7 separate regions of the Homo sapiens genome follow, and regions 1, 2, 3, 5, 6 and 7 are each linked to region 4. Evidence: promoter capture Hi-C in 16 types of primary human blood cells and fetal thymus (Javierre and others, 2016). All regions are on one chromosome and are shown on one strand. Each heading gives the region's core, a stretch centred on a gene start or on the middle of the fragment in contact. The rest is flanking DNA. Distances are from core to core; before and after follow the strand shown.

The links. Contacts are between HindIII fragments. The CHiCAGO score rates a contact against its expected background, and 5 or more counts as called.
Region 1: a fragment that was not itself captured here is called in contact with the fragment with the promoter of DLX6 in region 4 in 11 of 17 cell types (monocytes, total CD4 T cells, total CD8 T cells and 8 more); the score reaches 12.9 in monocytes.
Region 2: a fragment that was not itself captured here is called in contact with the fragment with the promoter of DLX6 in region 4 in 17 of 17 cell types (monocytes, naive CD8 T cells, total CD4 T cells and 14 more); the score reaches 21.5 in monocytes.
Region 3: a fragment that was not itself captured here is called in contact with the fragment with the promoter of DLX6 in region 4 in 1 of 17 cell types (non-activated CD4 T cells); the score reaches 6.2 in non-activated CD4 T cells.
Region 5: a contact is called between a fragment that was not itself captured here and the fragment with the promoter of DLX6 in region 4, in 2 of 17 cell types (naive B cells and activated CD4 T cells). The highest score is 7.8, in naive B cells.
Region 6: a contact is called between the fragment with the promoter of DYNC1I1 here and the fragment with the promoter of DLX6 in region 4, in 13 of 17 cell types (activated CD4 T cells, total B cells, M0 macrophages and 10 more). The highest score is 13.0, in activated CD4 T cells.
Region 7: a contact is called between a fragment that was not itself captured here and the fragment with the promoter of DLX6 in region 4, in 1 of 17 cell types (total CD4 T cells). The highest score is 6.4, in total CD4 T cells.

What each region holds. Positions count from the first base shown.
Region 1 is chr7:95,933,675-95,936,795 of GRCh38, reverse strand. All of the region lies in intron 6 of DYNC1I1 (dynein cytoplasmic 1 intermediate chain 1), which reads right to left. Among named protein-coding and RNA genes, the nearest start is that of DYNC1I1, 160 kb to the right of the region's middle. The HindIII fragment of the contact is 1,297 bases long and covers 1,178-2,474 here.
Region 2 is chr7:95,911,408-95,914,575 of GRCh38, reverse strand. The region is part of intron 6 of DYNC1I1 (dynein cytoplasmic 1 intermediate chain 1); the gene reads right to left. Among named protein-coding and RNA genes, the nearest start is that of DYNC1I1, 140 kb to the right of the region's middle. The HindIII fragment of the contact is 2,652 bases long and covers 358-3,009 here.
Region 3 is chr7:95,863,477-95,866,475 of GRCh38, reverse strand. The region is part of intron 5 of DYNC1I1 (dynein cytoplasmic 1 intermediate chain 1); the gene reads right to left. Among named protein-coding and RNA genes, the nearest start is that of DYNC1I1, 92 kb to the right of the region's middle. The HindIII fragment of the contact is 200 bases long and covers 1,278-1,477 here.
Region 4 is chr7:97,004,167-97,007,174 of GRCh38, reverse strand. It overlaps DLX6 (distal-less homeobox 6), which reads right to left and starts at 1,622. Exons shown (of 3, transcript NM_005222.4): 1 at 762-1,622. The coding sequence starts at 1,197. All of the region lies in intron 1 of DLX6-AS1 (DLX6 antisense RNA 1), which reads left to right. RefSeq lists a silencer at 772-871 and an enhancer at 2,184-2,905. The HindIII fragment of the contact is 12,379 bases long and covers 1-3,008 here.
Region 5 is chr7:95,893,028-95,896,056 of GRCh38, reverse strand. The region is part of intron 6 of DYNC1I1 (dynein cytoplasmic 1 intermediate chain 1); the gene reads right to left. Among named protein-coding and RNA genes, the nearest start is that of DYNC1I1, 120 kb to the right of the region's middle. The HindIII fragment of the contact is 3,227 bases long and covers 1-2,981 here.
Region 6 is chr7:95,771,189-95,774,317 of GRCh38, reverse strand. DYNC1I1 (dynein cytoplasmic 1 intermediate chain 1) reads right to left here and starts at 1,764. Exons shown (of 17, transcript NM_001135556.2): 1 at 1,545-1,764. The HindIII fragment of the contact is 2,753 bases long and covers 1-2,598 here.
Region 7 is chr7:95,966,082-95,968,833 of GRCh38, reverse strand. The region is part of intron 6 of DYNC1I1 (dynein cytoplasmic 1 intermediate chain 1); the gene reads right to left. Among named protein-coding and RNA genes, the nearest start is that of DYNC1I1, 190 kb to the right of the region's middle. The HindIII fragment of the contact is 8,224 bases long and covers 1-2,752 here.

The sequences.
Region 1 (3,121 bases), core at 577-3,076, 1.1 Mb after region 4:
AAAAATGACATTCCCTTTTAGTAGACATTCACATTCTTATAGATTATTCCATATTCTGGCTATGTCTGATTTTTTTCTCCTGGAACAATCGTATTTTTAATTTCCAAACTATTGTCCTCTGCTTTTTCCACAACATCTTGTTCTTGTTTTCTGAACGTGAGATCATCTCATTACACAAAATGTACTAATTACAGTACTCTTTTTTGGTAATTTTCTTCTCTTCCTTATATTTTTCCTCTACAGATTTTTTCTTTTTTTCTCTTTTTCCAGTATATGCTTTTTAAACACACCTTGTTTCACCTAAAAACCAGATACAGATGAAAAGCCATTCTGTGGTGGTTTCTATAAATCTGGGCACTATCTATGGCCAACTTCCCAGTCTATGGATATTCTAGGATCTTATTTTTAGTAAGAAGTGTTTAGATTATAGCTACTCTACTTGTGACTATCATCAATGCAAGTCCAGGGAAATGGTTCATTACTAAAAACTCAGCTATCGTTTTGACATTAGTTTTCCCAATTATTTTCCTGTCCTTCCCAGCATATCAGCCATGTATATAATTGAACTCTTATGAGTTCTTTATTTTATATGACAAATACACATATTTCATTAATTTCTCAGTAACTACTTCTCTATAATAACTATTCTCTTGCAGACACACCATTCTTGAATTTAATATTTGCTTGCCTATTTAGCAGTTGGATGAGAGTATTATGAGAAATGTGAGGTACGTGAGGTCACATCTGACTAGCTCCTTTAATGGAAAGAAAGAAATTATCTGTGTTACTGTATACTTCAGCTAAGACCAAAAAAACATGAAATTTCTCCACATCCTCACTAATACTTGTCTTTTTAAAATAATAACCATGCTAGCAGGTATGAGGCAATATCTCATTGTGGTTTTGATTTCATTTCCCTGATAATTGTTGACATTGAACATGTTTGCATGTATTGGTTGGCCATTTGTATGTCTTTTTTGGAGAAATGTCTATTTAAATCTGTCGTCCATTTCTTAATCAGGGTATTAGTTTTTTTAAAAAAACTTTTGAGTTGTAGGAGTTCTTTATATATTTTGGACATTAACCACTTATCAGATTTATGGTTTGCAAATATGTTCTCTCAATCTTTAGGTTGCTTTTTCACGCTGTTGATTGTTTCCTTTGCTGTGCATAAGCTTTTTAATTGGAGCACTTGCACACTGTTAGCAAGAATGCAAAATGTTGCAGTCTCTATGGAAAATAGTTTGGCAGTTCCTCAAAAAAATAAAAATAAAATTGCTGTATGATCCAGCAATCACACTTTTCAGTATCCATCCAAAAGAGATGCAACCATAATCTTGAAGTGTTATTAGTACTCCTATGTAAATTGAAACACTATTCACAATAGCCAAGATGTGGAAACAACCTAAATGTTCATTGACATTTGAATGGATAAAGAAAATGTGGTATATTCATGCCACGGAATACTATTCAGCCTTAAAAAGAAGAAAATTCTGCAATATGTGACATCATGAATGAATGTTGGGGATCTTATGCTAAGTGAAATATACCAGTCACAGAAAGACAAATACTGCATGATTCCACTTACCTGAGGTCTCTAAAATAGTTAAATTCATAGAATCAAAGAGCAGAATGGTGGTAAACAGGCTGAGGGGGAGGGGAAAATGGGAAGTTACTAATCAAAGGCATAACATTTCACTCAAGCAAGGTGAATAAGCTCTAGAGATCTGCTATAGGACATTGTATCTATAGTTAACAATAATTTATGGTACAAATTTTTGTTGGGAGAGTAGATCTTATGTTAAGTGTTTCTAACACAGACACACACACACACACACACACAAAACAAAAAACAAAAACAAAAACAAAAAAAAACGAAGAACAAAAAAGCCTCGGTGTTTTTTCTTAACTTTGAGATGCTACAAGTCATTTCCTTTTACTTTGTAGTTTTGTGTATATTTATATTCTTATATTTTTATTTTGCTAGTATGAAAAAGGATTTGCAGTCTCAAGTGATAGTATGAGATAGCAATTTTAAAATTCAAGGAGAGGCAAGGAGAAGTCAGGCAGGGATTTTAAAACAAGTAAAATCCACCAGGTGGATAATACATGTGATGATATTGGCAGTTAACCAGGTGAACTTAAAGTCTCTTCCAGTTCTGGGAGTTCTTTATTCTATGACTTTGGTGTTTTACAATGAGGACTTGCCTTCATTCTCTGTTCATATGAAGCCAAGACAACAAACTAACAGTGTCTATGAGAAAGAACTATTTATCATACCATTTTATTTGTGGATATGTAACTGATTGGTTTTCAATGAGTTGTTTCAGTATTTTATAAGTTCAGCCACAGGTTTACATAATGGAAGCCTTAAGAATTACTTGAATTACTAAGAAAAAATTCCCACTTATATGTTGATCATGTTTTGTTTCTTTGCTTTTCCTAACAAGGGCTATAATTTGGGAACCAAAGCTTTTGTTTGTAATTTAACATGTGACCCCTAGTACCTAATAGTGTACCGGTATACCCTAGAGGAACTCCAGAAGTACTCAGTAACCATCTATTAACCTAAGAAAATGTCCAAAATTGTTTCATTTCTCCAAATCATTGAGGGGGGCCATGGTTGGTTGTTTTCAGGCTGTTTTCCTGTCTCCATGCAGTTTTTAGTCCAAGAAATTGAACAGCAGAGTTTACTCTGGTCATTTTCTTCTTTATCACTGTTCCAAGACCACCAGGCAATTATTGCTAGCACTTACATAAATACAATTATCAGTGGCAAACTTTCTTCTATACTACTGTATAGAATGTGAACCGTGATTGTTCTCTAGGCTAATCTTTCATTGGCACCAATGGGTGATCCCAGACTGAATTTATGAATTAATAATAGGGAGCTCTAAGTGTCGGGTTTCATTTTATGTTACATCTTTTACCACCACTAGGCTCAAAATAAATCCTGCTAAGAATAGCCAAGGAGAAAAGGCTGTGGGTGGCATAACAAGGGCGACTGAAAGGCGGGTGTCTCAAAGGCAGGTGTCTCATTCACTTTAAGTGTTTACATAATTTTATGTGAAGTTTTTTTTAAAAAAAATGTGTCACTGCCTTCAGTGCAGTGTCATGTCAC
Region 2 (3,168 bases), core at 434-2,933, 1.1 Mb after region 4:
GATGGGGAAATAAAGCAGGATGATCATCACATTTAAAAAGGAACATTATTTCATATTATGACTAATACCATATTCAGTTACCAATTTTATTAAAGGGTGAAAATATTTTGTCTGCATCAAAAAAAGACATGACTGACCCAATATGGGTAAGAAGTGTATTTTGAGCTTTCTTTTTAAATTATTTGCTCTCTTCCATAATCCACAACCCGCAGAAAGGATTTCAAGTGGCCTATAAAAATAACCATAATACAAAAGGATACAGTAAATAATCAGGAATGTTCTAATGAGGGGAAATATTAGAGCCATGGACAAGAAAGCAGCCCCATCCTATTCAGCTACTGGAAGTGGCTTAAAGCTTCCTAGTGAGTAAAGAAAATGAAAATAGTAATATGATTCATGATGTCATAGATGAAATGTGCTTTGAATTGTTTTTCCAGGAGTAACAGGTCTGGTGCCCCATTCAGGCCTTCTTGCCTGGTACTTCCAATAAACCTATCAACCCAGTCCCTGCCTGGGTGAATGTATAGCTCTGGCCATGAAACAGGTCAAAGCTAAAAGGCTTGCAAACAGATCAAATGCACAATTCTGCCCAAGATCAGAGCTTCTCACCTGGTGTGCCACTAAGGGGTCACAAGTGTGTTGTAAGCAACTGATATCCTCAGCCCTGGGATGAGGATGGGGCTACCTCCTTCATTTATCCCAGTGTTCCATGCAAATACTCTGATATTAATGCAAAAAGATTAGGAAGCACAACTACAGACAACTGAATTATTAAACCCATAGCATTATTAGTGAATAGAGACTAAAAATCAGACTCATAATCCAAAAGACTGGCAAGGATGCCATTTCCCTAATTCTATGTGTTACCCATGTGTATTAGTCCTTTCTCATGCTGTTAATAAAGATATACCTGAGACTAGGTAAGAGGTTTAATGGACTCACAGTTCCACTTGGCTAGGAGGCCTCATAATCATGGAAGAAGGCAAAGGAAGAGCAAAGGCATGTCTTATGTGGCAGCAGGCAAGAGAGTGCATACAGGGGAACTGCCCTTTATAAAACCATCAGTTCTTGTGAGACTTATTCACTATCACGAGAACAGCATGGGAAAACCTGCCCCCGTGATTCAATTACCTCCAACAGGGTCCCATCCATGGCACCTGGGGTTTATGGGAGCTACAATTCACAGTGAGATCTGGGTGGGGACACAGCCAAACCATATTACCATGTCCAGCTCTCTTTCATATGTGTGGCACCATGCCCCCACCTCCGCTCAAGAGCTCTGTTCTATTTTTAGATCAGGACCACTTTACTTAGCAAGGATCAGTTTATGAAATTTCAAGAGAACTAAAAAATAATATTTCTATATGAATATGAAGATGCAAACACATTAACATCTGTTTTTTCCCACCCAGGATAGAACCATGAACTAGGCTCTGGCTCCTAACCAGAGGTGCAAGTAATGAAAGAGACACTAGCTCACCTTAAGCAAACAAGCCAAAGGAAAAGTCTACATAAAAATATTAACAGACTATTTTTGCCAATAGTGGTAGAGCATTAATCAAAGGGATTTAACTAGCTTGCTTTCTTTCTTTTTTTTAGCCAACTTGCAAAAGTTGGTTCTCATTTTGGGAGCATGGGGGAGTAACTATTTCCAAGGATGCATGAAACCAATCCACTGCCACAATACTAAGATACAGGAAGTCCATCTTGGTCTGTAGCCCACCAATCTCCTGCCTTTGAGGTGGTCCTCCCACTGTTTAGAAGCTGATTCAGACAAAGGCAGAGGAAGGACAAAAGTGTGGGTTATTAGTCCTTGACCAGGGCTGGTGCTAATGAGACTCTAGACAATGGACACAAACAGATTGCCTTTCCTCCTCCCGCCTCCAAAGCTGCCTGGCATGTTGGTCAAAGAGGGGGCAAGCCTGCATGTCTGGCTAGAACGGTTCCTTCTCTACTGCTAGAGAGGTGCCTCAATGGGCATTCTTCTGGCAGGAGAACCTGCACATGATCAGAACATGATTTCTCATTATTAATTATTCACTCTATGTCCCTGCAAATCAAGGAGTGGGAAAGACCAGCTCTTCAACCTGAGCCACATGCACTGCACACCCTGAACAAGAGAGATTAAACGTATCAAAGGCAAATGTCCTCATACCACGGAGAACAGAACAAGCCAGATAAACTCCTTCACTCCAGAACTGCCTTTCCTCTCCTTTCTTAGCATCAAGATGTTCAAGTGGGCCAGGCATGATGGCTCAAGCCTGTAATCCCAGCACTTTGGGAGGCCAAAGCGGGTGGATCACCTGAGGTCAGGATTTTGAGACCAGCCTGGCCAACATGGTGAAACCCCCTCTCTACTAATAATACAAAAATTAGCCGGGTGTGGTGGCACATGCCTGTAGTCCCAGCTACTCAGGAGACTGAGGAAGGAGGATCACTTGAACCTGGGAGGTGGAGGTTGCAGTGAGCTGAGATCACACCACTGCACTCCAGCCCAGGCAACAGAGCAAGATTCTTTCTCAAAAAAGAAAAAAAAAATGATGTTCAAGTGATGAGTGAGTGCTAAACAAGCAGCCTTAAAAAGTTTGGATTACCTGTTCACAAATTTGAGTGCTTGGGAATTCATCCTGCAGATTAGGGCATGCTTTATCATCTCTGAAGTCTTCTTACAGATAATCTGTAACTAGTTGCAGTGACCTTGAAACACTAGCTATACACATTTTTCTAATTTATCTTATTGGTAGGATAGCCCCCTTTAAAGTAGTGGTTCTCAAGATGAGATCCTTAGACCAGCAGCAGCAGGTGCTGACCTGGGACCTCACCACACGTGCAACTCACAGACCTGACTTCAGACCTGCTGAACCAGAAGGTCAAAAGATGAGGCCCTGCAACCTGGTTTGAACAAGCCCCCCAGGTGATTGGGATGCATGCTCAAATTTGAGAATCACTGCCTTAGAGTGTGTTATTTCCTGCTTCCCTAGTGTTTCAACTATTTCCTAAATGTAAGCTTGGGCCTCTGTGTCCTTCATGGGCACATTTCCAATCAGCCACTTCTCAGGAGGAGTGCTTGATATTGTTCCTTCCCTCCTTGCTTTCCTTCTTCTCACCTCTGGTCAGCCTTTTTTGACCCTTAACTGAAGCAGAGAAGTACATACCACCACTGCCTCA
Region 3 (2,999 bases), core at 128-2,627, 1.1 Mb after region 4:
TGGCTCTATGCAAGAGTAAGTCCCAGGGCCATGTACTTAAAAACTTTGAAACTATACTTAAAAACCTTGTTTTCCTGCGTGTTCTCTAATGCCTTATGACCATCCACTCATTGAGGCATGCTTCTTAAAACCTAATATAGTGGTCCAAGCACGTGTGGTCATTTTAGAAGCATGAGAAAGAATTATTGAGAAGTAGCCTGGTTTAGATTGTTAGGACATAATGAAAGGATTATGTTTCTGAGTTAAGTACCATACAATCACTCCCAGCCCTAGCCAGTCCAGAAAGGATGACCAGAAGGTGTCGTCCTTTCATAGCAAAGACCTTTTGCTTAGGGATTTCTCTAAGTTAAACTAAGCAAAGGAGGAAGAGCAAGACAACACTGTGGCATTCATACCACTGCAGTTCCCGTGCCTTCTAGTTAGGCTGCAGACTCTATGCTGGTTCCTCAGTTCCGACTCTGTGCTACCTTTCCTGCCATCCCACCACCCCTCCTGCATAGCTTATGCCCTGTTCACTGTACACCCAGATACTGCTGCCATAGCCCTTGGTACATGTCACTGTACAGTCATGTGTGGCTTCATGATGGGCACACCTTCTGAGAATTGCATGTTAGGCAACTTTGTCATTGTGCAAATATCACAGACCGCACTTACGCAAACCTAGATGGTATGGCCTACTATACGTCTAGGCTAGATGGGATAGCTTATTGCTCCTAGGCTACAACCCTGTACAGCATATTACCGTACTAAATACCGTAGGCAGTTGTAGCACAATGGTTGAGTATTTGTGTATCTAAAAATAGAAAAGGTACAGTAAGTATACAGTATTATAATCATACAGGACCACCATAATACACAGTGCGTCATTGACCAAAATATCATTATGTGACACATGACCGTATTCACTTCTTTTTCATGTCTCTCACCCATGACTAGACTGCAAAGATACTTATTTATCCCTTACTAATTTATGCCATACCCTGGGCCTTAGTTTAGCGTCAGGTACATAGCAGGCACTAAATAAATGTTTGAGGCAGGAAGGTAGAGAGGAAAAAAGGGAAGAGAAGGAGAAAAGGTAGAAACAATGTAGAAATATAAATTGAGACTCAAATTATGTATGTCCTGGTTGACACGGCATCATTTTAAAATCATGTGGTGTATTTTCACCTTGGTAAAATAAAAGGGTTTATTGAAACTTTAAAATTACTGAACTATAATGCTTTAAGTAACCGTGGGAAAACAAACATTCAATATCACCTATGCAGTACAATAAAGCTTCATATATTTGGATTAATTGTGCCAAGAGTAAACCAAAATTCGAGAAATCCTAGAGCAGAGATTCCCAAAGTGTGGTGCCTGACCCCACCAGCAGCAGTGCCACTTGGGAGACGGTTAGAAGGCAAATTCACAGTCCCCACCCCAACCCACTGAGTCAGAAATTTCAGGGTTGGGGTCTGGCAATCTGTTTTAGGAAGCTTGTCCACCTTCCCCCTTTCCCCACAACCCCTTACTCTGGTGATTCTGATGCCTGCTAAAGGTTGAGTATCACTGGCTTAAAAATACTAGATAGAGTGGAGAGATGAAAACTTCATTGTTTAGGCAGACCTGTTTGAGCTTCCCCACCCTGCCATCAGATCCCAGGCTATTCTAGAGGCTTTAGTGCCACTGAATGGGCAGACGTCTTTGAACTTCATTATGAAGTTCTATGAAACAAGCCAGGTAAAGAGATGAGGGAAAAGGTGAGAAGAAGAGGGCTACAGAAAGTAGATTGCGGTATACAAAATATTAAGAAACTGGCTCAAGAACCTTTGCTAGATAAAAAACTAAAAAGTCAGACAGATGATTCCAGACCGGGCAGTGGAACCACAGATCCTTGACAAGCTGACTTGGTCTTGTCCTGAAGTGACCTGGAGCCAACATCTCCCCAGAGCTAGGGTTTGACTTTCCCCTGAGAGTTTCTTTTCACCTTGTCCTGTCAACTTGGCTGGGAAAGCTGGCTGAGCAAAGCCATATTGCAAGAAAGTTGAAATGTTTCTTCTGAAAAGAAAAATCAGGTCTTACTAAAGAATAAAAAATAAAGCTACTTGAAGTTTGAGAAGGTTATTTGCCACTGCTCAAGGTGCAAAGATTTCCAATTTAACACTAGCATAGTCCAATCCACCCAGGTTCTGTCCATTTGTCCTTGATTGGACATTATGAATCACAAGAAGAAAACTACTCCATTGTATGAATCACTGTCCCCATTCCCCTTTCCATTTCTGGTTCAATTGACACTTTTGTCTATCCACTCACAATAAGGTTAGCATGGCTTTGCTAGCTACTTATAAAGTTGTATTATCCAAAAAAAGGTGAAGCTCCAAGTGTGATATAAGGATGATCTACGATAGCTACTAAAGCTGAAGAAAGTTAGGATTATACAAACTTACTCCCAAATAAAAGCATGAGAAACATGTACATTACCAATGGAATTCTAAAAAATATATTCTATGTGGCTCTTCTCTCACTTCAAAGATAAAGGAAATTTTGAGAAAAACGTGAATGATATTTTGGGATGTTATGAAAACTTTAAGTACTATTTTTAGTACTATGAATAATTCTTGCAAAGCATAGAGTTATTTACTAAGCTGGAATGCCCTGGCTTTCTCCACATGTTCTGAAAAGAGCTCCATTCCTTTCAGGACCATAAACAATGGATCGTTAGCTTCTGGAATCATTGCATCTACATCCTGAAATAAGAGGAGAGGCACTGTTTTGTGCCTACATGTGATGAAGGCCTAAAGAAAACCCACTAGATTTCAAAGAAACTTTCTAGTTACCTTGAAAAATAAAGGCCAAAAATTTAAATGGAAAAATAATTTTGACATGTCAAGGACTGGATGGGGAGCTGGTTATGAAAGGCACGGAGAAGCAGCAGAGGTGGTTGACCAGAGACTTAAGATCAAGGCTGCCTTAATTTTTTTGTTAAAATAAAGTTCACACAGTATGAAATTTCCTTATTT
Region 4 (3,008 bases), core at 373-2,872:
GAAATGACTCTCCTGAGGAGGACCAAATCCTCAAACAAAACACAACCAACAGCTCAGACCAGCCCACGAGCAGGCTGCGCCTCTCACGGCAACTTTGTCCCCCTCGGGTGCTGAGAACCATCAGCCCGAGGTTCTTTGCTTCCCCTCCACGAACAAAGGAGCAGCCAACACTGTAGCGAAAAGCTAGATAGGGGGCCCGGTCAGGGATGAAGGTGAGGGACACTTTAAAGCCCACTGGAAAGAGCCTGACTGTTACTAGTTTAACCAGAGCGAAAGCCAGGCCAGCTTCCCTCCGAGTCACTGAGGAGCACGGGGCGCCCCACGCAAAGTAGGCCACTGCCTGCCCAGCGTGGGCTGGGAAGCAAAACACGCTCCCCAGTTCCGGCCCAGAAATGTCCCCAGCCGGGTCAAACGTGGGTTACAGCCTGGAGGGAAGGAGCAAGGAAAAGGGCGCACAGACCCAGGAGGCTGGAGAGCGCAGTGTGGACTAACTCGTCGAACGAAGCCTGCGCCGGGCCCGGGACTCAGCCCGAACTGCGCGTCGGAAGCTGAGGGTCCGCGGCGGCGGGAAGGGGCCCGGCTGGGAGAGGCCGGCAGGCAGGCGCCAGGCGAGCGGGCGCGCACGGGGCCCGGCCAAGGGCGCGCGGGGCCGCCTGGGGGAGGGGGCCGGCGGAGGCCCGGGCGTCGAGGAAGTGAGCGGGCGGGCGGGGTAGGGGGCAGTCGGGAGGCGGGAGAAGCGAGCTGCCCCAGCGGCCTCTCACCTGTGTCGTCCCCTCGCGTCTGGGCGGCTGCGCTGCTGTTGTGGTAGGACTGGAGGTAAGGGCTGTGCTGCGAGTGGCTCATGTAGGGGTAGGCGGCGAGCGAGCGGTGGTTGTAGGAGTTCCCTCCGCCCGACGCGTAGGGCGAGCCGTGGTGGTGGTGCTGGTGGTGGTGGTGGTGGTGCGAGCCGGCCGCTGCCGCCGCCGCCGCCGAGTGCAGGCAGTGCAGAGGGTAGTGCGCGCCTGCCATGGCCGGGGAGCTCTGCTGCGAGTGCGGCTGCGGCGGCGGCGGCGGCGGCGGCGGCGGCTGTTGCTGTTGCTGCTGCTGCTGCTGCTGCTGTTGCTGCTGCTGCTGCTGCTGCTGCCCGAACTCCATGAAGGCGGATTTGGACGAGTCCTGGCCTTCCAAGCCGTCAGCCATCGTAGTCATGGTCATCATCAAAAACTTTGGGGGCTGGAGAAAGCCTTCTCCCGGGTTTCCTCCACCCTCCCCCACTTGGCTCGCGCCGCTCTCCCCTCTGCAGCCACCTTAGCTCTTTGGATCCTTGCAAAAAAAAAAAAAAAAAAAAAAAAGAATTTAAAGAGGGGGGTGGAGGTGGTTCTCCCTCTCCCTCGCTCTTCTCTAATATATATATATATTTAATATAAAGAGATATAGTGAGCGGGGCCTTGTTAACTCAAAGGGAGGAGGAAGGAGGAGGGATGGGAGAGGAGAGGGGGAGGGGGGAATCTGCTCTCCCCCCGCCTGCTTTCCCCCCTTGGATTTTTTGGGGGCTGGTGCAGTTTAAGGCAGAGATTTTAAGGTGGATTCTGCGAAAGTTGCGCGTCTGCTTTCAGACTTGATGCAGACGCCACGAGTCGAATGGTTTGTCTCCAAAGGGCAGTGCCTCCCCATTGGTCAGTCGCCCCCTGACGTCACAGGCGCACGGCTTCTACTGGCGTGTGCGCGACTTGCAGAGTTCTTCGCCTACCTTCCGCAGTTCCAATCCCAGCCGGAGCTGCAGCCGGGGGCCGCGCTGTGTGGCGCCCGGGGCCGTTGGGGAGGGAGGCGCCTCTGCCCGGCCGGCCGCCGATGCTTCCCGCCGCAGCTCGTGCCCCAAATCCCGGAGCCCCAGTTGCCAATATCTCAGCCTTGAAACAGCCAACTGGGGGCTGCTCTCTTTCAATCCCTTTGCACCCTTGTAGGTTGCCTGTGCTTAGAAGCAGTGACCCCACCCCCGCATTAAATCCAGGCCCCCCTTTCTTGACGTCCCTGCCACTCTGGTCCTACTACACTCTTGTGGGAGCTCCTTGTCACCGTGGATTTTTCTAGACGTATTTTATTGAAACCACAGAAGGAAGACGAACCCTCACACCTGGGCTCCACCCCACTGGGGGGTGGTACAGAAAAAGAAAAATCAGACCCTGTTCTGGCTCGGTCCCTGCCGTTTCAGGCCGTATTTCTTATATATTGTACAAAAGGTTGTGGGGGGGGGGGGCGTCTTTTTTTTCTTTTCAGAACGCAGCAGCGTGTTCTGAAAACGAATCGTTGGAGGACTGACAGTAATGCATTTTTTCCTATTGAAAACAGAAGCTACTGTAATGCTTTCAAATATATGCAAATGATACATGCGGTTAGTGGTTTGGCAAATCTTGATTACAATATAAACTACCCAAGTAAAAGTGCCTTCGTCCTAAATTTGTCTCTCGATTACAATTCCAATTGATTTTATTTTATTGTCAACATTGTTAATGATAAAAATAGAGTCGTTTTACAGTTATTTTTACTTTCTGGAAGGAGGCAATTAGAGTTCTAATCAGGAATACACAAAAATCTCCCATGATTAACTGCAGTACTTTGTTCAAATTGCTGCTATAAAATTCAGAACAATTTGCCTGTAATGATTATGGACTGGGTTTATTTTGGGAGGTGGAATAAAAGTGGATATAGCATAAATTATCCTCTAATTATACACCAGTGTCGCCTCAATTATCCTCTTATCAAAATGGTTGTCTAACTGCCGCATTTAGTTTCAATTCTCTCCTTTTTTTCTATAAAAAGAACTTCATACCTTGTTATTATTAATCCATTTATTATTTGCAAGGGGATTTATATCCGCACATCCAGGTGGTAGAACCACTTCTCTTTCAAAGATGGACTGGGGAAAGACATTAAGTTCGGAGCAGCCCAAGGCTGCGGATCTAGCCTTTCTCCCTCCGGTCTCCAGACCCACGCAGGTTAAGGCAGCCAAGCAGAGACAGCGGAGCCCC
Region 5 (3,029 bases), core at 119-2,618, 1.1 Mb after region 4:
AGCACCAACACTTCACAGACTGAAGGCTAAATGCCTTCTGCCGGCTCTTCTCTCAGATAACTGCCCTAGGAGGGGAAAGGTGGAGAAGATGGTTTCTCTTGCCTCCCTCTCAAGCTGACTCTGAACTGAGGGTCCATCATCAGGGCTAGCAGGCCCCGCTTTCACTCAGCCCTAAGGTAATTAGTGGCATAAGACAGGATACTATTAGCTTGGTGCAAACATAATTGCAGTTTTTGCATTGTTGAAATTTGCTGTGTGATATTGGAATACATTCTTAAATAAATGTAGTTATGTTATATATCACTTTAATGGCCATTTCTCACTTTTTTTTTGCTAATGACTTATTACTTGCTGTTTATTTTATATTTATTTTAGACAATGGAAATGATGTTAGACAAAAAGCAAATTCGAATGATTTTCTTATTCGAGTTCAAAATGGGTCGTAAAGCAGTGGAGACAACTCACAACATCAACAACGCATTCGGCCCAGGAACTGCTAATGAATGTACAGTGCAGTGGTGGTTCAAGAAGTTTTCCAAAGGAGACAGGAGACTTGAGATGAGGAGTATAGTGGCCAGCCATCGGAAGTTGACAATGACCAATTGAGAGCAATCGTCGAAGCTGATCCTCGTACAACCACATGAGAAATTGCCGAAGAACTCAACATGGACCATTCTATGGTTGTTTGGCATTTGAAGCAAATTGGAAGAGTGAAAAAGCTGATAAATGGGTGCCTCGTGAGCTGAGTGAAAATTGAAAATATCACCATTTTGAAGTGTCATTTTCTCTTATTGTACTCAACAACAATGAACTATACTCCATCGGATTGTGACATGTGACGAAAAGTGAATTTTATACAACAACCAGCGATGACCAGCTCAGTGGTCAGACCAAGATGAAGTTCCAAAGCACTTTCCAAAGCCAAAGTTGCACCAAAAAAGGGTCGTGGTCACTGTTAGGTTGTCTGTTGCCAGTCTGATCCACTGCAGCTTTCTGAATCCCGGTGAAACCATTACATCTGAGAAGTATGCTCAGCAAATTGATGAGATGCACTGAAAACTGCAATGCCTGCAGCCGGCATTGGTCAACAGAAAAGGCCCAATTCTTCTCCACAACAATGCCTGACCACTCATTGCACAACACACAACCAATGCTTCAAAAGTTGAACGAATTGGGCTAAGAAGTTTTGCCTCAACTGCCATATTCACCTGACCTCTCACCAACTGACTTCTTCAAGCATCTCGACAACTTTTTACATGGAAAATGTTTCCACAACCAGCAGGATGCAGAAAATGCTTTCCAAGAGTTCATTGAATCCCGAAGCACAGATTTTTATGCTACAGGAATAAACAAACTTATTTCCAGTTGGCAAAAATGTGTTGATTGTAATGGTTCCTATTTTAATTAATAAAGATGTGTTTGAGCCTAGTTATAATGATTTAAAATTTAAACTGTGATTACTTTTGCACCAACCTATTACTAACTAGAAGAATCTATGAAGAAATAGCTAATTCCTAAGTTTGAAAAGAAGATACACACTCTTACACCCTATGCTTGCAGTGCTAATACAATAGACTAAATGTTTATGTCCCCCCCCCAAATTCAGGTATTGAAATCCTAACCCCCAAGGTAAGGGTATTAGATGTAGGTCCTTTGGGAGATAACTGGGGATTGGTACTCTTATAAAGAGACCCTAGAGAGATCCCTTGCCCCTTCTATCATATCAGGAGACAGAGAAGATGCTTTCTATAAACCAGAAAGCCAGGCTTCACCAGGTGCCAAGTCTCCTGGAATCTTGATCTTGGACTTTCCAGCCTTCAGAATTGTGAGACACAAATTTCTGTTATTTATAAGCTACCCAGTTTATGGTGTCTCATTATAGCATTCTAGATGGACTACAGCAACTAATAATCTGGGATGTTCCAGGATGCTTTGCATGGGTGGATGAGGGAAGGGCAGGTATTTACAATATCACTTGATAGTAGTATAATATCAACATGTTAAATAGTTATCAAATTTCTTCATAAGTAACAGCAGAGGCTTCATCAGAGATTCTCATTGTTTGGGAAAGGGTTATCCACTGAGGAACCGAATAAATTTTCACATCACTTCAAAATTTTCTTTCAGTCTTTCACAGGGCAGACTGCAAAGAGATTCCAAACCCAATTCTCCAAGTCCCAACCCAGTAAGCACACTCTACTGTTTCATTTAATATTTTTGTTTCCTGTTCTTTCCACTTGGCTTTGTTTGACATCTGTCTATATTAACTATATTTTCCACTTACATTACTAGCTCTGGCAGCTCAAAGAAACAAACCTTTTGAGTCTGGCTGCATTATTCCTCAGTATTTCCTAGATCTCTAGGTTTTGCATCATCAGCAGTCTTTGATACCTAAATCTGTACACTTGGTAGTTGACATTCATGGAGTGCCAGCAAGATGATGGACCTTGTATAGGAACAGGAGTAAGGCACATGTTCTCAGCCAAGCAATTATGGGACTATAAAGCCCAGGCAACATTTCTTATATCAAATTTTAAGGAAGTTATTGGGAGTGGTGTTTAAGATTTGTCATTTTTAGATATTTAAAAAAGTCTAGACGTTTGCAAGCCAAACTGTTTAACACCTAAAGAAACCCTTTAATATAGTATCATTTCTGCTATATAAATATCACATGCTTTCCTGTCCTTCCCTTCTCTGATTATGGAAACCCAGGGAAAAAATGAAGAAACACATGAACAGGACTTTCTTGAGTCACAAATCCATACTGCAAGTGCTAGTGAAAGCACTCCCTTATTTATATTTCTCAAACTGTCTTCACATAATAGTTGAATTTTTTGTCTGACTCCTCAACATCACAGCCCTTCAGGATGAATAAATGTGTGTTTCTTTGGAAATCAGCCTGTTGTGGGAGAGCTCCAAAACATGCTTGTGTTTGGTAGCTGAAACCAGGAAGCTATTTTTAACCCTCCCTTTTCAAAGCTTACTGTGCCAAAATATATAAAGACTTATTAAGAAATGAAGAAAAAAGA
Region 6 (3,129 bases), core at 515-3,014, 1.2 Mb after region 4:
TTGTATCTGAGGCCTGAGACAAGGAAGACAAAGTAAAATGCTGAGATGCTGTGGGCCAGAAACAGGGCTAAGAGCTTGACAGGCTGGAAAAGCCTGCATTCGACCCCCAACTGTATTCTAAAAACTTCCCAAGGATGGTGCTAGAGGTTTTAAGAGGAATGGGTCTTGGAGCACTGGATCCTCAGACCTAAACAAATATTCGAGAGTTAGTTCTTATGAAGAGAACATGTGGTAACTCAGTGGCAGGTGTTTCAGATTTTATTTTATTGAGAAATATGATCAAAAGAGCTGAGTTAGGACCCCTTTTTCCACACCAAACCTTTTTGAACAAACTTGGCATTTTAAATAATTAGAGGTAGTATTACATTCTCACCAGTACCCTCAGCTTGCAAATTGCACTGAATATTCCCTTTTCAAATTTACTAACACTGATCAACGTATATCTCTATAATTTCCACAATTAAAGTATGTACACAGACTGGTTACCCATGTCTGTGTTAACATCAGGCGTTGGGTTGTCACCTGCAGTTGCCTATGCCTTACTGTTAGCTATACTTTTTGCTAATCTGGAATATTTGGAAGCAATTCTTCACAACTCTGAACTACAATAAGTCTACAATGCCCACTTGAAAGGCATTCCAAGCAAGAAAATGGCTGGCTACTTGTTCCTGCCCCTTACCTAGGATTAGTAGAGGCCAGAATAGCGAATATATTCCATCTTCTGCATGTTGTTGAGTCTCTGATCTCCTATGTAATTTCCTGTCCTGATCCTGGGCTTCTGTTTAATCTTATTAGCCAAGGTACAAGTCATGAGACTCCCGCACACTCAGTTCCCATCAGCGCTGCCAGGATCACTGCCCTTATGATGACGACGCACGGATTTATAAGGCCAGAGCGATTCCGAATGGGAGCGGGGGAAGGAGAGCCAGGCGGCCGTGAAGGTGTTTACCAAAACAACATCCCCCAGCCACACTTTTTCGCAGCAGAGAGAAACTGGCATCTTCTCGCTTTGAAGTGTTTAATTAATGCCCTGCTGGAAGTGAATTCGCTCCCTCCGACTTGCAGGGTAGTGACAGCATCTAAGAGCTTTGCAGACAGCTCGAAATGTAATCAAACAGCATCCTTTCCCCTCCCTCTGCAGCTTTCCCCCTCCTCCAGGGGCAGTCAGCCGGTGGCCCAGAGGGGTGCAGATTTCAGCGCCGCTCGCCCACTGCTCCCCCGGGGAAGACCGAGGCGGGGCGCACTGGGACGCCCTTCCCAGCCCACAAGGTGGGCGACCAGGTGGTGACACCACGACCCTTCCTTCTCTGCCCTAGTCTCTCGGCTCTGCCGAGAGGGGGGTGTCACTGGGGGGCTTTGGCCGCCTTCGGGCTCAGCGGAGCACGCAGGAGCCTGGGCAGGGGGCCAGGACAAGGGTCCGGCTGCGGCTGCAGGGGCCTCGGCTCCAGCCTGGTTCCCAGCGCAGACGACACCGGGGTGGGGAGGGTTGGGGAGAGGTGCGGAGGCGGCCGTCCGGGGAGCGGCGACATCCCGCTCCAGTTTACCTGGACGCGCTCGGCAGCGGCGGAACTGGGCTCCCCGAGCCGGCGGCGGCTCCTGGGCGGCGGCAGCGTTGGTGCAGGCGGCTCCCGAAGGTGGCGGGGCCGGCGCGGGCAGGATGTGCTGTCTCACGCTGCGCCGGCCGCTCGGCTCGCGCTCCTCCGGGAGCGATCACTTCCTCTCTCCCAGAGCCTGACACTGACAGCTCCCCGGAGCACTCAGTCTGCGGGGCTCGCCCCGCCCCCTGCCCACGCCCTCCACGCCCGCGCCCCTCCTGAGGGAGGGCCTCCGCTCCGCGTCTTCCGCGCCCGGTCTCGCCAGGAGGGGGTGGCGCCGCTCCGTAGGCTGGTGGCGAGCAGAGGACCTGGAAAGGTCAATTCGTCTATCCCTCTAACGTCGGTAGGACTTAGACCTCAGTTGCTGCAAAGAGAAGAGCTTCAATATTCTGGGAGCTCCTGCTGAAATGCCACCATTGAACAACTTTCACTCCCAGGCAACTACACTTCTTAAGGTCATTTAAATAGAAATAAAGCTCAGATCTACCTGTTGTACACAATGACTTATAGGTCTGATTGATCCCAATTTTTCTAGAAGAAAAAAGAATTAAGTGTGTGTGTCTGTGTGTGTGTGTGTGTGTGTGTGTGTGTGTGTGGTGTGGTGTGTGTGTAGCTTGTCTTCACATTGCTTCTTAAAGTCCCAGCTTTTAAAAATCTGGGTAACTGGCCAGACGCGGTGGCTCACGCCTGTAATCCAAGCACTTTGGGAGGCCGAGGAGGGCGGATCACCTGAGGTCGAGAGTTGGGGGACCAGCCTGACCAACATGAAAAAACCCCGTCTCTACTAAAAATACAAAATTAGCCGGGCGTGGTGGTGCATGCCAGTAATCCCAGCTACTCGGGAGGCTAAGGCAGGAGAATGGTTGAACCCGGGAGGCGGAGGTTGTGGTGAACCGAGATCCCGCCACTGCACTCAAAGCCTGGGCAACAAGAGCGAAACTCCGTCTCGGGGAAACAAAAAAAAATCTGGGTAACTATTATTGGACTCTGCAAAAAACAAGCTTGCCACAACAGCTAAGTTATAAGGCCAAAAAATTGAGTTTGGGATGTTAGGGGGTTTGGTATCATTTTATAGATGAGCTTTTCATCATATTTCTTGCACATCTGTGGTGTATTTTTACACATTAGAATGTAAATTAGTGGAGGGCAGGGACGCTATCTTGTTCACTGCTGTATTCTTAGTATCTAGAACAGCATTCTGATATATAATGGGTACTCAGTAAATATTTATGAACTTATTAATTCACAAGTACTACAGTAATTTCAAAATAAATACAGATTCTAGTATGAATACAGTATGAATACATACTCATCTGTAAATGGCCATCCTTATTCTAAAACTTTGGCCTCCCTGGCTAATCTACTGCGATTGTAACTATGGCTAGAAATGAAGAGGTTAAATGTCTAGGTAGAAGGTATTCAAGGTATTCCAGAAGGAAAAATCTAGGAAATAAATATTTGCCACTACCGTGACTGAATATTTAATACATGTCAATTCTACATACATTTTTCTTTAACTTTTCTATAACATTAT
Region 7 (2,752 bases), core at 124-2,623, 1.0 Mb after region 4:
ACACACACAGAGCAAAAAATTCAGAACAATTGAAGATGCAATTCTTGGCTGCTTGGAAAATAAGGAGGGACTCCTCTGTTTTTCAGACTCAAATCCCTTCTGCTATCTACTTCCGCTTTTAGACAATTCCATTCTCTATTCTTCTGCTTTCTCTATTAAGTCTTCCCAATGTGCAAATCTGCAGTTTCCTTTGGTGGGAACCTTGCTTGTGAAAAAGAAAATCAGAGTCACAGAGATAGAGATGTCATGATATTTAACTTTTAGGAGTGACTGTAGATCTGTCCCAAAGGAAGGCAGACACTCAAGGTCTTCACATACTAGAATTGTTATTGTGTTATGTTAACTAGTTTAAAAAAGAGTAAAATAAATAGAAACCATTTAGAAGCACTATTTTCGCTGTAAGGAAATTGTTCCTAAGGACAGAGTGGTACCTTCCATACCTAAGAGTCATCATCTCTGACTATTAATGTTAGAGCTGTTGTCACATCAATCACTGCATATATAGGTCATCCCACTAATATTAGTACATGTTCTCTAGCATTCCTTTTATTAACAGGATCAAATATTGTTAATTCTATCTCTTTGTATACCCTTCTTTTGCACATCTCCCTTTATTCTCTCCATTTCCCACCTCCTTTTTTTTTTTCGGTTAAGGCCACCTTGGCTTTTTATGCAGCACCTGGTCATTGTTCCCTACCTCTAACCTCTTTCCACGCCTACTCTTGCTACAAACAACACTGTCTGATCAATCCTCTTCAAACAACTTGTTCATATCAATTTCCTGGTGGAAACATTTGATAGTTTCTATGACATGCAGACTAAAAGCTGAGTTCCTTGGCCTAGTCTTCAAGTCCTCTAAGGTCTGGCCCCAATATGTGCTTCCTGTTTAAATGTCCTCTACTGTGTTCACCCCCGCACAAGCATGCACATACACACATGCATACTCCAGTCTGCCTGCACTAACACAGTATCTGCTGCACACAGTTCCACATTCCATCTGTACCTTGGTTCATGCTTCCCCTCAGTCAGACTCCCTTCTTCTTTTCCTGTTACAAAATATGAGCACCTACTATGTGCTGGGTATATTCTACGTATTGGAGATGCAGCAGTGAACAAAACAGGTAAAAATTCCTGCCCTCATGGAGCTGGCATTCTAGCAGCAAGATGGAGAATAAACAAGATAAACAGTTGAAGTATATGGCAGGTTAGAGAGCTGCAATCACTAACAACAAAAACACAGTAGTAGGTGTCACAATTTTACACAGAGAGCAAGGGAGGTCCTTACTGAGAGGTGGCATTTGGCAATACACTCAAGGAAGTGAGGGATCAGGTCTTATGGACCCCTGTGGGAGAGCAACCTAGGCAAAGGAAACAAAAGCACAAGGGTAAGAGTGCACCTGGAGTGTCCAAGGCCTCCAATACTTTCTGATCTTCCCTACATGTAAATCCAGCTACACTGATGACCTGATTCTAAGAACCCCCCAGTTCCCCAAATTGTTCCTGCTCTACCTGTTGGCGGGATTTCTTCTTCCTTTAACCTCTCATAGCACTTCAGTTGGGTATTTCCTACAACCTTTTGTTCATCCAATCAAAGAACTATTATGTTTAAGATTATGGCATTTATCATTCTCTAGCTATGATATATAAATTGTAAGTAGAACATAATTCTGTATATTTATGAGTTTTTTCCTCCCAAATTCTTGGGAGTAGGCTCCATTAATTATTCATATCTGTATGCCCCAATGTGGGTGTCTAGTAAATATTTTTACTGTTTTAAATTTTAATAATTTCTAATTTCCCCAGTAGTTCTAAAAAGGACGTTTTCTCAGTGGTTTCCCCAATGTTTCAGTTGGATCATGAATCTCCTCACTCAGCATCAAAGTGTTTTCCTTTCCTTGATCACTAAGCCCCACCACCACTGACAGCAACTCTTGTCTACACTCACCCCGTGCCTCCCTGCACCCACTATGAGGTTCACGGTCCTTTCTTGTTTGTTTCCTGTCCTAGTCACCGGTCACCAGGTACTTACTGACCACATATTGTGTGGTAAGATGTATTCCAGGCACTATGGAAAAACAGTAGCTATTGATTTATTGAATCCTTCATGTCTATCAGTCTATTCACTCCTCATAATAACTCACTGAGGCAAACATGATGAGCTTTCTCTATGTATGAGAAAACCGAGGCTTTAGAAAGGGAAGATGCTTCCACTAAGGTGAATGAGCTACACGCAGCAGTAGAGTCAAGAGTCAAACCCATGTTTTTCCAACTCCCAAACCATTTCTACAGCTAAACAGTACCGAACAGTATGAAGAGAAAAGGGGAACTGTAATCTACATTTGTGGTTTTGGCCATCCAGAACCACCACCCCACTTCTTGGGATAACAGGCCCTCTATTATTCTTTGGTGGACACATTCTCCCTCTCTCCTCTAAGTAAATACTACTTAAGATTTAGAGGAAGACTTTGTATCTGAGGCAAAGATTAATGAGACTATTTTTCTTTGTACTATCAGTAAAATGACCATATACATCTACCATAAATTGGGACACTTCTGAGAGAGAATGGAGGTACAATTAATAATCAAGCTGCAATGACAGATGTGAATAAAGAGTGCCTGGGAAAACCAGACCTATGGTCATCCTGTCCATCAGTCCACCTCCTTTGGACTAGGTGACTGTCTTGGGAAATTCTGGATGTATCTCCTATTATAGAAGTAGACTCCTCTTTTCTATTGGACTGGGTGACTGTTC